Regions from separate parts of the Homo sapiens genome. Here all the other regions are linked to region 1. The links are contacts of gene promoters, found by promoter capture Hi-C in human tissues and cell types (Jung and others, 2019). All regions are on one chromosome and are shown on one strand. The core of a region is centred on a gene start or on the middle of the fragment in contact, and the rest is flanking DNA. Distances in the headings are between cores, read along the strand shown. Region 1 holds the start of SPATS2L (spermatogenesis associated serine rich 2 like). Region 2 overlaps LOC124906112 (a long non-coding RNA gene). Region 3 overlaps LOC124906112 (a long non-coding RNA gene). Region 4 overlaps LOC124906112 (a long non-coding RNA gene). Region 5 overlaps SGO2 (shugoshin 2). Region 6 overlaps LOC124906112 (a long non-coding RNA gene).

Region 1 (2,700 bases), core at 145-2,644:
TTCAAGTACTGGTATAAAACCACTTTCTCTGCACAGGTTCTAAAATTTCACAGTCGTTTGTCTTAAAGTCTGTCGGCTTGTGAGGGGGCTGGTACATATTTTAATATTTAAATTTCAAAAAATAAGCAATGAGACTGTGTTTGAAGTTCAAGGGTTTTCACTAGTTCTCAAGCTACAAACCCTGTAATATAGCCAAAAGAAAACGTACAGAAAGAATCTTTCACGAAAAGTGTCAGGTCTCCAAAACCCCGACATCTGCTAAAACCAGGATTGCGGGGGGGATGAGAAGCTCGTGAAGTTCAAAAACACACCAACCCCGCGGGAACACGAAACCTCCACTCGCGAAGACGCGACGCTTCCGCCGCATCCCCGCGCAGGTGAAGACTCGGCCCTTCAGCCCCGCGTGTGCGGCAGCATGATATTCAGAGTGCGCCGGCGTCCAGCGCGAGCGCATCCTACGACAACCCCGTCTCCCGCTGGGGTCCGCAGCCCGCGGACTCCGGGGTCCCCCCGCCCAAATGCGGCGGCGCGACCGCTTCGTCCCGCGGCCAGGGCGCTCCGCGTCTGCTCCGGCCACCCCAGCCCACCCGCGCAGCGCGGACGCCAACGCATCCCACTCCCGCTGGGCGCCAGGGGCGCGGGGTTCAGTGGGGCCGCGGCCCCCGCACCCGGCTGGGATCCGAGGGCGGGGTGGTCGCGGCTGACGTGGGCTTTGCGGCTCCGGGCCAGAGAGCAGCCTGGGGGACGGTGGGTCTCTTTCCGGCTTGGGAGGGAACGGGGGCGCCCGCGCGGGAGGACGGCAGGCGAGGGACGGCGGCCGCGGGCGATTCAGATCCGGGGCGGGCGGGTACACGTCGGAGCGCGGCGGCCACACGCTCGCCCGGGGAGCGCCACTGTGCGTCCCAGCCGGCGCCTCCTCCCGCTTGCCCGCGCCGGCTGGAGAAAGGAAGGACGGCGACCTTCGCGTCCGGTCCGCGCCACCAGCCCGCCTCGGCGCCGAGCGCGGGCCACACCCAGCGCTCCGGGAGGCGGCGGAGGCTGGGCGGCCCGGGCTGCGGAATGCTCGGCCCAGCCGAGTCTCCGTCCCGGCCGCGCAGGCCCCTCCGCGTCCGCCCGCGCCCTGCATCCCCAGCCGGCCCGGCGTGGAGGGGGTCCTGGGCTTACCTCTGTGTCGAGCGCCGGCTCCTCCGTCCCGGGCCGGAGCCGGGGCCCGGGGGCGCGGTCGCCAGGGGAGGCGCCGCGGCGGTGGCGGCCCCTGCGGCTCGGAGGGCGGGCCGAGCGGGAGCCGCTGCCTGGGCCGCGCGCCGTCCGGAGCTCGCCCCGCGCTGCCGGCGCTTGCAGCGGAGGGCGCAGCCAGCTCGGCCCCCGGACTGGATTCCTTCACTGACACAACTCCGGCTCGGCCGCCCCACGCAGGGACACTCCCGCCCCTCGCAGGCTGCCCCCGCCCGCCGACCCGCCCGCCTTCCCCTCGGTGTCACTCACCAGGAGCACACACCCCAGCCGGCGCCCCTCGCTCCCGCTCGCAAACACAGCGCTGCTCACGCCTCTCTCGGGTTTTGTATCCGCTCACACGCACGTTCTGACACAGATCTCGTCCCTCCACACGCCCTCCCTAGCTCCTTTCCCACCCCACTTTCTAGAAGAATCCCAGTACAGCTTCCGCACTTTGCTTGCTTGCTCCAGACCGACTTCCTCGCCTTTCCCCAAACCTCCACTTCACCGAAACTCCCCTTGTTAATGAAAGATTTTGTCACAATCCGCACGTGTTGCAAGAGAATCATCTTCTCCTACCCGAGAAAATGAACTTTGCTCCCTCAGCACTGTCTGCAAATACGAGATGTTTTTCCTTTTAGAAGGTAGTAATGCTTTCTGGAGAGGATCCAAGCTCAAAATGTAAGCAAAGATAGCCCATTCGAAAATGACCTGAAAAATCAGGCGCGGAAAAAGTGCTGGAGCTCGGGTCAGCCCTTGGAAACCCGACCAACCCGGGGTGTTCCGCCGCCTCCTCTGCGCTGCGGGTCTGCACACTGGGCTCCAAACGTGTGTGTAATAACCAAGTTACACATGGGCATCGTGGGCTTCAGCCGTGGGTTTCTGCCTGGGAGTACAGTAGTCGGGAGAGTAAAAGCAGTTTCTCAATCATTATTCATGATGGAAGCACTTTAGATAACACTCTTCTTCCAGAGGCAGTAGAGTGAAATGCAGGCAGCTCTCCAATTCAGGTTTTTATTTATTTATTTATTTATTTATTTATTTAGAAGGGTGACTTCTTAGCTTCCTTTTTTTTTTTTTTTTTTGGCAATACCAATAACTGTTTCTGAGTGGCTCCTTGGCTGTCAAGCTCCTTACAAATATCAGACCAGAGTTTGTTATGCTTCTCGAGCTCCAGACTCTAATGGGCCTCCGAGGGCACTGCAGAATCGTACATAATCCGATGTTCAGGAATTCATAATTTGAAATAAAATACAAACACCTTTCGGATAAAGTTCAAATCTGCTAACATAATGTGGCCCTGTTGACAACGCACTGCTGAAATAAAGAGAGGAGCTAAAACGAAAGGAATTCATTTTCTTATGTGACTTGGAGTGGTTCTTGCTACCTTATAGTCGCCTTGGATTGGTGTGTGGATAATATAATTTATTTAACAGACATTAGCAAGTGCTTTATAAGTACTAGCTCATTTAATCCTTGGAAGAA
Region 2 (2,700 bases), core at 3-2,502, 170 kb after region 1:
CTTATGCCTATAATCCCAACACTTTGGGAGGCTGAGGTGGGAAGACAGCTTGAGCCCAGAAGTTTGAGACCAGCCTGCTTGAGCCCAGAAGTTTGAGACCAGCCTGGGTAACACAGTAAGACCCCATCCCTATAAAAATTTTTTTAAAAAATAGCTAGGCATGGTGGCATGCATCTGTAGTCCTAGCTACTTGAGAGGCTGAGGCAGGAGGATTGCTGGAGCTGGAGAGGTTGAGACTGCAATGAGCTATGATTACACCACTGCACTCTAGCCTGGGTGACGGAGCGAGACCCCTGTGTCCAAAAAAAAAAAAAAATGTATATATATATAGAGAGAGAGAAAGAGAGACAGACAGACAGAATCTCTGACGTTAGAACCATACAGCTTTTATTTAAGTATTGCTTAAGATGTTTTTCAGACCCTGAATTCCAGCAACCAGTTTGAAGCCCCCCCGCAGAGGAACAGAATTAGCATGAGAATACAGCTTCTTCCTCTCTCTGTCCCATGACTTCACCCTGCACTCTTTGATTAATCAATGATCTCCACACTGTGGCCCACTCCAAAACTCTTAAAAACCCTAACTTCAAATTCCTCAGGGAGATTGATTTGAGGTTTTCTCCCATCTTTTAATTCAGTGACCCTACAATTAAACCTCTTTCTCTTCTGCAACCCGAAGTCTTGGCATATTGACCTGCTGTGTGTGTCAGGCCATGAATCTATTGTGGTTACAAGACAATGTCAAAAATCATTCACTCCTTTGGTTGACCCACTGTTCATTTACCTGGGATAGATTTTAGGAAAAGGAAGAGCATGGAAAACAAGAGTAAGAAAATGCCACAGCTGAAAAGAATATTAGCATAGTCACAAGATGTTGCAAATTGTCAAGTCATTTACAGAATGAGACCTGTATTTATGTGGTCTGGCAGCCTCGGTGTGCTTAACACCTTTAGAATCTGAATGCTTTTAGGTTGGGAAGAACTCTCAAGTTTATGAAAGCTTCCAAGCCTTTCTGTTCTCTTAAACCTGGCATACTTCATGTGTATTCCTTGCCTTATCTCTGAGGGCCTTGAGTTAGTGTGATATTGTGATATAATAAAAGATATATATTTTGTCTTTGTCACCAGTTCCTGTCACAGAGCTCTTAAAATCTTTATAATTTCCTGAGTAATAGGGGTAAGTGGAGCATCTTTTGTTATTCATAATGAGCCTATTTCAACCACACCTGAGTTTATGCTAATTAGGTGACTCTTGGTAGGCCCTGAGATAGCTTCAGGATGGGGTATGGTTGCCAGAGGAATAAGCCATGTGATTAGAGGGTTGGAACATTCAGCCCCACACCCCAACCTCCTGGGAGGGGAGAGGGGCTGGAGATTGAGTTCAGTCATCAATAGCCAATGATTTAATCAACCTTGCCAATGTATTGGAACCTCCATAAAGCCCCCAAATGATGGGGTATGGGGAGCTTCTGGGTCAGTGAACACATAGAGGTGCTAGGAGAGTGGTGGGCCTGGAGAGGGCCTAAATGCTCCACGCCCCTCCCCTATACCATGGCCTATGCAGCTCTTCCACCTGGCTGTTCTTGAGTTTTATCCTTCATAATAAATTGGTAATAGTAAGTGAAGTGTCTTCCTGAGTTATGTGGGCCATTCTAGCAAATTATCAAATTTGAGAAGGGAGTCATGAGATTTATAGCAGAAATTGTCTTTTCAAAAATTACAACAGTGAGAGAAATTTAACCTAACTGTCTCTATCTTGATTCTAAACTCATAAGCTAACTGCCTTTGTTAACCTTAAAAAAACGTTGATAACAGTCCCTTCCTACAACTAACCAATCCTTGCTTGGGGACAAAGACCACCTTTTTAGGACTAATGAAAGCTCAAAAGATTGGGATTGTGCGACGGGCCTGAATTCTGCTAAGATAACATTACTATTGTCAAAACCTAAGATTGGTCTTTGAAATATTTTTCAGACGTTTGCATTCTGGTAACCAGCTGACCCCAGGACCCATGACCCATACTAAGAAACTGATTCAACTGGTCCTATGACTCTATCTAGGAACTGACTCAGTGCAAGAAGACAGCTTCAACTCTCTATGATTTCATTTCTGACCCAACCAATCAGCATTCCTCACTCCCTAGCCCCCTGCCCACCAAACTATCTTTGAAAAACCACAGTCTCTGAATATTTGGAGAGGATGACTTGAATAATTACTCCCATCCTTTCTCTTGGCTAGCCCTCTGATTATTAAATCCTTTATTTGCTGCAATACTGCTGTCTCAGTGAATTGGTTTTATCTATGCAGCTAGCAAGATGAACCCATTGGGTAATAACATAGAGAGTCAGTCAGAAGTACAGGAGGCTGGGGACTTGCCATTGGTGTCTGAAGTGGGGACAGACTTATGGGCCTGAGTCCTTACCTTGTGGGGTCTGCACTAATTCTGGATAGTGTCTGAACTGAACTGGATTGTAGGACATCTAGTTGGCTTCTGGAGGGTTGGAGAACTGGTTGTTTGGTGTGGAAAAACACTGACACATTTAGTGTCAGAGTTGTAAATGAAAACAGCAGAGTTAGTGACCCCAAAAGATCTCCATATTTCAATGAGGAGATAAAGGCCTGTGGGAGTTGAGAGTCAATCTTTCCAACACCATGTAGCTAGTTGTGGCAGTTAGTGGTAGAACCTATATTCCCTAATTCCTAG
Region 3 (2,700 bases), core at 166-2,665, 190 kb after region 1:
GCCTCAGAAATAACACCACACATCTACAACCATTGGATGTTTGACAAACCTGACAAAAACAAGAAATGGGGAAAGGATTCCCTATTCAATAAATGGTGCTGGGAAACCTGGCTAGCCATATGTAGAAAGCTGAAACTGGATCTCTTCCTTACACTTTATACAAAAATTAATTCAAGATGGATTAAAGACTTAAATGTTAGACCTAAAACCATAAAAAACCCTAGAAGAAAACCTAGGCAATACCATTCAGGACACAGGCGTGGGCAAGGACTTCATGACTAAAACACCAAAAGCAATGGAAACAAAAGCCAAAATAGACAAATGGGATCTAATTAAACTCAAGAGCTTCTGCACAGCAAAAGAAACTACCATCAGAGTGAACAGGCAACCTATAGAATGGGAGAAAATTTTTGAGATCTACCTGTCTGACAAAGGGCTAATATCCACAATCTACAAAGAACTTAAACAAATTTACAAGAAAAAATCAAACAACCCCATCAAAAACTGGGCAAAGGATATGAACAAACACTTTTCAAAAGAAGACATTTATGCAGCCAACAGACACATGAAAAAATGCTTATCATCACAGGTCATCAGAGAAATGCGAATCAAAACCACAATGAGATACCATCTCACACCAGTTAGAATGGCGATAATTAAAAAGTCAGGAAACAACAGATGCTGGAGAGGATGTGGAGACATAGGAAAGCTTTTACAGTGTTGGTGGCAGTGTAAACTAATTCAACCATTGTGGAAGACAGTGTGGCAATTCCTCAAGGATCTAGAAGTAGAAATACCATTTGACCCAGCCATCCCATTACTGGGTATATACCCAAAGGATTATAAATCATGCTACTATAAAGACACATGCACACGTATGTTTATTGTGGCACTATTCACAATAGCAGACTTGGAACCAACCTAAATGTCCATCAATGATGGACTGGATTAAGAAAATGTGGCACATATACACCATGGAATACTATGCAGCCATAAAAAAGGATGAGTTCATGTCCTTTGTAGCAACATGGATGAAGCTGGAAACCATCATTCTGAGCAAACTGTTCCCAGGACAGAAAACCAAACACTGCATGTTCTCACTCATAGGTAGGAATTGAACAATGAGAACACTTGGACACAGGGCGGGGAACATCACACACTGGGGCCTGTCGTGGGTCAGGGGATGGGGAAGGGATAGCATTAGGAGAAATATCTAATGTAAATTATGAGTTAATAGGTGCAGCAAACCAATATGGCACATGTATACATATGTAGCAAACCACACATTGTGCACATGTACCCTAGAACTTAAAGTATTAAAAAAAAAAAGTTTTGGAGCAGGAACAAAAGGAAGTAAAGTACACTTGGAAGAAGGCCAATCGTGTGACTTGAGAGATGCAAGTGCCCCGTCTGACCCTTGATTTGGAGTTTTATCATTGGCATGCTTCCAGGGTTTGCATCTCTCCTCCCTTGATTTTTCCTTGGGGCAGGCTCTTTGCATGTGCAGTGGCCTGCCAGCACTTGGAAGGGGCTGCAGGCGGTGGTGTGTTTACTGAAGTTGTGTGCATGCTCGTTTGAGGCATTTTTCCCTTAACAATCGAGTATTGCTAGAGGAAGGTCATATAACAGTTAAACTCTTCTATTTTGCCTCTAGTGCACGTGCTTAAGCCTGCTCACCCAACTCCTGAGATCTTATTGGGAAGATGCTGATCACCAGCCTTAGGTATTTTCTGTCTTCTGGGAGACAGCCGTTCCCTGGCACCAGCTGCAATGAATTATCATTTTAGAGAGACAGTTTGATAACCATCTGACCATCACCTGATAGTTGTCTCACATTCCTGGAGGGGAAGCCCTCTCCTGCCCTACTCATGTCTGCCTAGCTATCTTCTCTAACAATATCAGACTTAGAAAAGAGCAACTTGACCCTCCCAGCACATTTCTCTCTGCACTCTGGAAAGGGCATAGCATCGTTTTCTCAGTTTCTGAAGCTGTCCTGCAGTTTCAATGGCCCTGGAAAACTCCCTTTGTCCATGGTCAAGGTGATAAGGTTGCTTGCATCATTGACATCCTGGACTTCTTGCCTTTTGCAAGGAGGAACCAACCCTCATACAGTCAAAAGCCTGCATACAGCCTAATATCTCTCCTCACATTTATGGGGGTTCCTAGGACTTCAGGTCCCTGGAAACCCGTCTCTTGCTCCTGACCTGGTTCTTGCTGTCCCATGTGATGTGACTGAATCAGACTCTGGCCAGCTGGAAGGAGAGAGAAGGACTTAAGATGCTGCTGTGGGGTACATGTGAGGTAGACCGGCCTGTCTGAGGAGTGGCAGTAAAATTTTGAAGGAAGAAACAGGTTTTGAGGGATTTTTAAAGAAAAACTACTAAATTTGATGATTGATAACATCTGTGCAGTGGGCTGGGCTTGCAGGGAGGGTTATGAGACATGGTGAGGCCAGAGTGGTCAAGTGACTGAATATTGTTGAGAGTGAGAAGTGAAAAGGGCAGGAGACCAGAACTGAGGCTGAGAGTGCAGCTATAATGATAAAGACGGGCCAGGCACAGTGGCTTACACCTGTAATCGCACTCTGGGAGGCCGAGGTGGGAGAATTGCTTGAGTCCAGTAATTCAGGACCAGCCTGGGCAATATAGTGAGACCCCATCTCTACAAAAAATTTAAAAATTAGCCAGGCATGGTGACACA
Region 4 (2,700 bases), core at 38-2,537, 210 kb after region 1:
CAGGATCCAGACTTCTATATTTGTATTCCAGCTCCGTAATTTGCTAACTGTGTGACTTTAGGCAAGTTGCTTAACTTCTCTGTGTCATAGTTTTGTCCTTTGTTAAACAAGGATAACTGTACTCTCCAACTCACTGGGTTATTAGAAGGATTGGTTATTATAAGGATTGTTAGTATTTGTAAAGATTTTATAAATGACATAGAACAGCACCTGTCAGAATGCCTGTATCTGTCAAATAAAAGCGAGCAATAAACATTGAATTCTGGAGAGTGGTCACTGGTGTGGGAGGAAAAAGGAATATTGGGGGCTTCCACTAAATTTCAAATATCTTATTTCTTAAGCTGGATGGTGGACACACAGATGTTTTTATATTATTATTTTTGATGGGTCAAAATATTTGAAAATTTAAAAGGGGATGCATAAACTATTTCAAATTGTCAAACTTGTTGGGGGAAAAGTTATAATTAAAGATTGATATTGTAGTATCTTTCAGAAATCTGGTGTATTAGTCCATTCTCACGCTGCTAATAAAGACATACCCAGGATTGGGTAATTTGTAAAGGAAAGAGGCTTAATTGACTCACAGTTCCACAGGGCTGGGGAGGCCTCAGGAAACTAACAATCATGGCAGAAGTGGAAGCAAATCATGTCCTTCTTCACATGGTGGCAGCAAGGAGAAGTGCAGAGCGAAGAGGGGAAAAGGCCCCTATCAAACCATCAGACCTCAGAGAACTCACTCACTATCACGAGAACAGCATGGAGGCAACTGCTCCCATGATTCAATTACCTCCCACCGAGTGCCTCCCACAACACATGGGGATTATGGGAACTACAATTCAACATGAGATCTGGGTGGGAGCACAGCCAAACCATGTCATCTGGGAAGAGAAGCTCCCTTAAAATATATGAGTCTAGTTTTTGAACCTTCAATTTTGGTAACATTTTCTGGAATATGTTGTACATAAAGTAGGAAACTGCTTATACCTGGCCTCAAACTTGGAAGCATCCCTAAACCTAGGGTACAAAACACTAGCCTTGGAATCAGAAAACCGAAATTCTGTCCGTGCTTCTGCTGTTGATTTATTTTGAGTCCCTGTGCCAGTCTATCTCCAATGACATCCTCGTGTTTCATTTTATCTGTCTTTAGGATGGATGTGTCGTCTTCCACCTCTTTTAAAAGGCAGGAATGGAACCATCTTTCCTTATCTTCAGCACAGAAGGGAGAGTTAGAGTTTCCTTTCCCACCCTCCCCGACTGCCTTTCACTAACTAGCAAAGACGTTTATTTTATTTTAATGAAGTCTGTGAAAAATGATTCATGCTTGAAAGCAGCCTTTTCCCTTTACTTAATGACAGCTTCAGCTTCTGAAAGTAAGCTAAAATGTAGGAAAAAAAATCCCATGTGGCTTTCAGAATGTACAGATGAGCATATGTGCTGTGCTTTCAAAATTTTCTTTGTTAGTGGATCTATTGTACACATAAGCAAGAGCAGTCTAGACCTTCAGAAGGGAGAATCGCAAAAAAGCCATCTTCTAATTTCCCAATTGTTTGTTTCCCAATTGTTCACTTTAGGGAAGATGGTGACATTATAGCGGTGACAGCCAGTCACTTCGATATGCGTGTACTGTTGCATTTCGGAGAAAACACATGCAGTTGTTTTCTCCCTGCTGTGTCTGATTTCAGACTCCCAAACTATCATTCATTTAAAAATAAAACAACAAAAAACCCTGCTTACCCCTTTCCATGTCGATAGGAATTATATACTGGTAATAAGAGGGCCTGGCTTTTAAGCCTATTTATTTGAAAAAATAAGAATGGGTGCCCAGCCCAGCTGATGTGCTAATGACATCTACTCAAGCTTTTTCCTCTTATTGTGTAGAAGATGAAAGCATTTGGCTTGAAGTGTTGTTCTGGCTCATCTCCTTCCGTGCATTCCCTCCCTCTTTCTCTGATTTCTTGCAGTTGGCATAGGGGGCCCTTGATGCATCTCTGGTTGACTGGGGGTCTTGAGCTTCCATCTAAACAGAGGTGGAATAAAGCTCAGAGCTTATTTTGTCAAGCATGGTTGCTTTCTTTTTAAGCCCACATATGCTAGAAGGGGAATTTAGTCCTTGCATTTCTGATTTGTTTATACTAAAGAGTTGTGTTGTGAGAGAGATATGATGTCTGTGAGACTGTTTGAACATTTTAATAAAGCTTTGTGAAAAACATTTTCTCTGAAAACAGGAAACCAGATTTTGCCATGTGTAAATAAATATAAAATACCAATGGGCTCAAAGCTCCCAACCTGAAGGTTCTGAATGGAGCCCATGCTTAAACAATTAATGTGATTTTCATCTTTATCTTGGAATGAGTGTAAAGTCTCCCCATATGAGTGTTATTTCTCCTTTTGCACATGATTATTACATCTCTGCGTTAAAGTTGGTTCTACACAGAAACAGTGCTACATCAGGCAATTCCCAGGATTCATTCATTCTTCAAACATACATTGAACTCTATAAGTGACTATTGGACACAGTGATACAAACATGAAGAAGATTCAGTTTTACGTTCAAGGAGCCCATGGCCCATGGTCTGGTTCAGAAAACTGACTTATAAACAGATGATGATGATACAAGTTAATAAGTGCAATTGTAGCCATGTGTTACGGGTATTGCAGGAGCCTGGAAATTAGGCATTTGAGTCAGCCAGAATAAAGTCA
Region 5 (2,700 bases), core at 172-2,671, 230 kb before region 1:
ATGGTGACTTTCAGGATTTAGTGGACTGGTGGTGAAAACCCAATTGGCTTGGGATCAAGAGAAACTAGAGATAGTGAATAAATCTCTCAAAAAGCTTTGCTGTAAAGGCAAGAAGAGAGCTGAGATAGTAGCGGGGAAGTAGGTGAAGTAAGAGGTTTATTTATTTATTTTTTAAGATGAGAGATGATAACATTTTTGCATCCTGATGGGAATAATCCAGAAGGGAGGGAAAAAATTAATGATGCAAGAGGGAAAGGCACTCTACACTAACACAAGCCAACAGCAAAGGATAACCCAAGTGTCCAACAACAGGAGCCTAGTGAGGTAGATTACAAGTCCACTCTGGATCTATCCAAAGCAGCACCAAAAGAGAATGAGGAATCACTCCACATAATCATATGGAGAGATCCCCAAGATATGTCACATAAAAAGGTATAGAACATCTGGTATAGCATGCTATCTTTTGTGTAAAGAAGAAAAGTAAGAAAATATTTATTTTGTTTGTTTGTTTTTATATAAAGAAATAGATGAAAGCAATCACCTGCATGAGGTACAAGGAGAAGACAGAACGGAGAAGAAAGTAGCTGAAGGCGGACAAAAGCATGTGTGAAACTTTATTCTATACTTTTCTTATCTCGTTCTGATGTTAGAACAGTACGTCTATATGACCCATCACCTGCCCCACTTAGTAACAACTAGAAAGAAAAAGAATTTTAAAGCTTGGTATGCAAAAGTTAGTCTGTTAAATAGTAAGTTCAAGAAGGTAGCTACCAAGAATGTATACTGTGCCTTCACCTCCAGCTTCTCCATCTACCTGCTGTCCAGTTTTTACTTTTCCTTAATCTAGATGTTGACCTCAGCCCTCTGAATTCTCCAAAAAGAACCACATGAAAAGCATTTGGGAAATTTAGAATTTGTTTTAGAAAACAGTATAAAGTAGGACCAGCCTCTATTTTTTTCCCCAGTTTTTCAATTGTGTCCATCTTTAAAACAAACAAACAAAAAACAAAAACCCCAAAGTCTTTCCTCACTTAAAATGCTTCCTTTCTACTAATGTCTTTATGTTTCTGAGTCCATTTAGGAGCCAGTATGTTCCACTAACCTGTCTAATCCTGTTACTTTTAATAAAAACCTAATTTTCATATGACATTTTCAATAACCAATTATACAAAATGATAATATGCTGTTAGCCAGTTAAAACTGATATTATCATCAGTCCTTTGCACAAAACTTGAAATGTGAATCTCTAACCTTGATGTTATTTAAGTAATCTCAGTGATCCTCAGTAATCTAAAGAACAACACTATTTACATATAAATTCTACTTACCTCAGAAAGACTGCTCATTTCAATTGCAGTTATCAAGTTATTGTTCATGAGAGCTTCTATGTCTATAAGCTTCTTATTCTGCACATGTAAAATAAAGACCCCTTTTAATCAGTTAAGACTTGTAATTTATTATAATATCAGGCATTTATGAATGCCATCCATGTGAGAAAACTTAAAAAATAGTTGATATCATATTGAGCTAAAAATTGAGATCACATTCAGCTAAAATGGTATATTATATAGTACCAAATAGTATTATATAGTCCAAATAGTCATACATATCATACATACATACATGTATACACACACACACACATATGTTGAATACTTTAGAACAATTTTGTTTTCCTATAAACATTTTTCTATCTTCTCATAGTAATATATCACATGGCAAGAGAACAGTTTGTCAGCCACCGGAATTAAACCCACAAGTAGAGTAGGTCCTTTTTCCATTATAAAAAGTTCTACTCATTTTAGATTTAGATCTATAGTTGCAGCCTAGCTAATCATTGGCTCTCACTGTCCTGTCTGTGAACAGAGTTGAAATTTGGAAGGAAAAGAAACAACTATAATTCTCATTCTGTTTAGCTTGTAGCCAGGTAAATGCTGAGATTAAAAAAGAATAACAACATTCTGGGAATTCCTTTCCTTTCAAGAACACCGGAAGAACTATGACCATCTTTTAAAAATGTATTAATGTACCAAGCTTTGTTTATGATTAGCAATCGAATGTTGGTCAAAGTATTATACTGGTTTACACAGCACACAAGCACACATTTAGAATGTAGATTTAAAACACATATTTTATTACCCATTAACAGTTTGTACTTTGACATAGACTTACATGGTATACTGACTTTCAATAATTTTTCACTATTGGAGATTTGAAAAATATTTTTAAAGCTTCTATAATAATGCAGCTAAAAGATTTAAGTTATAATTAGAATTCAAAAACAATATAGCTTACATACCAAGTTATTTAGCTTTAGGCGAAGAAATGTGTTCTCAAAATTCAGTTTCTCTACTTCTTTTTGCAATAGCATCTTTTCAGTTGTAATTCTTCGAGAATTCTCTTTTTCTCTACTAAGAGCCTGAGCTAATGCCCTGTTGTTGTGCTTTAAAGATATTTTGAAAATAGAAGAATTATCTGTAAAAAGATTTTTAAAATGAGTTAATATTCAGCTTATACCTTAAGAAATTTTTATATTCCTTAGTAAAACATAGACAAAATGCATTTCACAAGTTTTAACTGAAGATTAGAAAAGGGAATAACAATACAGATGTAGTTTTGAGAAAAATAAACCCAGAGTTTAGAGGTGAGGAAATGAAAGCTAGACAGAAGATGAAGAATTCAAGAGTTGTGAGGAATGCA
Region 6 (2,700 bases), core at 48-2,547, 130 kb after region 1:
TCTATGAGTGAATAATAATAGTGGATTCAACACATTGAACGTTTACTAAGCGCCAGCCATTTAAATAAGTAATTTGCATCTGAAACTAATTTCATCTTTCAGCTCCTCTCCTGGGTAGGTATTATTATTACCGTATCAGTTTTATGGATAAAGGAGTCAAGTGTATAAAGGCCAAGTAAGTTGCCAAGAAAGATTTTAGTGTGCCCACTTCACAGCTGGGAAAACTGAGCCTAAAGAGAAATAAAAGCTCTTAACTACTCTTTGTTTCCTTTCCCTGTATTCTCTAACTCTAGTTAACACAGAAAACTGTATTTGCTTCTGTTTTTTGCTTTGAGATTCTGCTTTTTATGTGATGTTTAGTAACAGGCTAAGTTATTACATCTGAAGTGAATAGAAATAAGTCCAATTTGGCTCATGTTCCAAAACAAAATGGATAAGGGCAGATTCTATGCGGGTCATTTATGGACATATGCGGCTATATTGTTTTCTGAATGGACATGGAAACCATGATGATTATGATCTTTTGAAAAATTCATGATTGAAACAGATCCAAGTTAATTATGAGATGTGCCTTATGAGGTTGTGTGTAGGAATCATCAAGGAAAAGAAAGAACAGAAGGTCACAGAATTCGTATCCGTGCAAGCATATGGATCAGTGTCTAAACGCACACACACACACACACACACAGACATTTCCACACATCTGGCTTGATTCACAAAGAATCAGGAAATTCAGTTGAAACACAAACCATTTTTATTTGTGTACTGTCTGGAGAAATATCATGGAATGTTATGGAAACAAAACCGCAAGCAGGGCCATAGGGCCGCTCAATTAAGATCAAATAAGTAGCAGTGCCCAACCCCTGTGTAGGTAATTAAGACCCAGGGTCCGAATCCTCTGCCATCCCCATGTCTTCCCTTTTCATTTAGGACGAGTAACTGGGATAGGAAGATGACAGAGATTCAGACTGCGCTCTTATTATGACAGAGACAATAACTTTTTGTACAATGTCCAAAAAGAAATGGAAAAGATTTTTTTTTATTGTGGTTATGGGCTAGACCCTTGACTTTTTATTTCGATGAATCACACATGTGGTTTTCTCTATGGGTACAGAGTGTTTAGAACACTCTGGAAAATCAGTTTTAACAAGACTTCAGTGTGGCTACATTATCCTGCACATAGTAGGCACTCAATAATATTTATGGATCACTTATTTGACAAAATAATTCTTCAACAAATATATATTGAGTTTTTAACAGATGCCAGGGACTTTACTAGGCTCATGGGACACAACAACAACAAAGAGAGCACTCTTTTCTCTGATGAAGACTATGTTCTACTAAACAGGACATAAACAAATATGTAAAATATGTAATGTGTCAAATGGTGATTAACTGCTCTGGTAGGCTGAATAATGGGCCCCAAAGATGTCCACTTCCTAATCCCTGAACCTATAAATATGTTCCCTTATTTGCCACAAGAGACTTTACGGATGTAACTAAGTTAAGAATTTTGAGGTGGAGAGTTTACCTGGATTATCCAGGTGGGCCCAACATAATCTAAAGGGTCCTTATAAGAAGGAGAGGTGATGATGGAAGCAGAAGTAAGAGTGATGTAAGCCCACCAGCCAAGGGATGCAGGAAGCCAATGGAAGCTGGGAAAGGCTGGAATCAAATTCTCCCCTATGGCGCCCAGAAGGGATGCAGCCCTGTTTACACCTTGATTTTAGCCTAGTGAAACGGATTTCAGATTTCAAACTTACAGAACTGTAAGGAAATAAATTTGTGTTGTTGGAAGCCACTAAGTTTGTGATAATTTGTTACAGCAGCAACAGGAGACTAATACAAATGCTCTGGGGAAAATAAAGGAAAGGGAGTAGACGGTGTTGAGGTGGAAGAGGCTGAGGGCTGAGAGTGGTTGCAACTTAAAATAAAATGAGTAGGGAAGGTGTGCCAGATTGTAATGTCTAAAGATGGCAACATGATATCACCCATCCCACATGCTTTCCTCACAGTGTGACTTTGAAACTTCTCCCATTAGATGGTGGGTTGGGGGAGGAGTGGGGTTCTCTGTTCCTCTCCTTCCATCTGTGTGCGTTTATGGCTCTGGTGAAAGAGATACTGTGTCACTTCTGAGGCTGGGTCATAAAAGGTGATACAGCATCTGCCTGCTGCTCTTTGAGACATACTCTTGGAACTCAGCCACCATGCAGCCAGGAAGCCCACAGAGCTATGGAGAGGCCACATATAGGTGTTCTGGTTGAGGTATCCACTGACACAATTGCTAGACTTGTGAGTGAGTCAGTTTTCAACTCCCAGCTGTGATGTCACCCTCAGCTATTCTCACTGTGCCCTTGCTGAGTTCCTAACCCACAGAATCCTTGAACATATAAGAATGATTGTTTTTTTAACAACTGAGTTTTGAGGACATTTGTTATGGCACAAAAGTAACTGGAACAGAAGGCCATATTGAGAGGGCGACATTTAAGCAAAACCCTAAAGGTAGTAAGGGAGCCATCACAATGTCTAGTGAAAGATTATTCAAGGTAGGAGAAAATGTAACTGCAAAAGCCCTAATGGGAAGGAAGGCCTTGTGTACCTGGTATGAATCAGGAACAGTTAGGGGGCTGTTGCAGAAATATAGATTGTGTAGGGGCTTGTAGACCATGGGAAGAATTTGGGCCTTTCCTCTGAGTGAAA

The links. The method cuts DNA at HindIII sites, captures the fragments that hold promoters and counts their contacts. A contact is called where the count stands out against the background at its distance.
Region 2: a contact is called between a fragment that was not itself captured here and the fragment with the promoter of SPATS2L in region 1, in 2 of the 25 tissues and cell types used here (bladder and mesendoderm cells).
Region 3: a fragment that was not itself captured here is called in contact with the fragment with the promoter of SPATS2L in region 1 in 1 of the 25 tissues and cell types used here (H1 embryonic stem cells).
Region 4: a contact is called between a fragment that was not itself captured here and the fragment with the promoter of SPATS2L in region 1, in 6 of the 25 tissues and cell types used here (IMR-90 fibroblasts, aorta, bladder and 3 more).
Region 5: a fragment that was not itself captured here is called in contact with the fragment with the promoter of SPATS2L in region 1 in 1 of the 25 tissues and cell types used here (hippocampus).
Region 6: a fragment that was not itself captured here is called in contact with the fragment with the promoter of SPATS2L in region 1 in 2 of the 25 tissues and cell types used here (H1 embryonic stem cells and heart right ventricle).

What each region holds. Positions count from the first base shown.
Region 1 is chr2:200,305,387-200,308,086 of GRCh38, reverse strand. SPATS2L (spermatogenesis associated serine rich 2 like) reads right to left here and starts at 1,394. Exons shown (of 13, transcript NM_001100423.2): 1 at 1,165-1,394. RefSeq lists silencers at 430-759, 780-1,509 and an enhancer at 1,920-2,019. The HindIII fragment of the contact is 4,989 bases long and covers 1-2,700 here.
Region 2 is chr2:200,134,628-200,137,327 of GRCh38, reverse strand. The region is part of intron 1 of LOC124906112 (a long non-coding RNA gene); the gene reads left to right. Among named protein-coding and RNA genes, the nearest start is that of SPATS2L, 170 kb to the left of the region's middle. The HindIII fragment of the contact is 4,189 bases long and covers 1-2,700 here.
Region 3 is chr2:200,111,924-200,114,623 of GRCh38, reverse strand. The region is part of intron 1 of LOC124906112 (a long non-coding RNA gene); the gene reads left to right. Among named protein-coding and RNA genes, the nearest start is that of MAIP1, 160 kb to the right of the region's middle. The HindIII fragment of the contact is 3,372 bases long and covers 1-2,700 here.
Region 4 is chr2:200,093,676-200,096,375 of GRCh38, reverse strand. All of the region lies in intron 1 of LOC124906112 (a long non-coding RNA gene), which reads left to right. Among named protein-coding and RNA genes, the nearest start is that of MAIP1, 140 kb to the right of the region's middle. The HindIII fragment of the contact is 5,638 bases long and covers 1-2,700 here.
Region 5 is chr2:200,534,771-200,537,470 of GRCh38, reverse strand. SGO2 (shugoshin 2) reads right to left here. Exons shown (of 9, transcript NM_152524.6): 3 at 2,300-2,475; 4 at 1,329-1,406. Among named protein-coding and RNA genes, the nearest start is that of SGO2, 9.9 kb to the right of the region's middle. The HindIII fragment of the contact is 3,825 bases long and covers 1-2,700 here.
Region 6 is chr2:200,171,409-200,174,108 of GRCh38, reverse strand. All of the region lies in intron 1 of LOC124906112 (a long non-coding RNA gene), which reads left to right. Among named protein-coding and RNA genes, the nearest start is that of SPATS2L, 130 kb to the left of the region's middle. The HindIII fragment of the contact is 5,433 bases long and covers 1-2,700 here.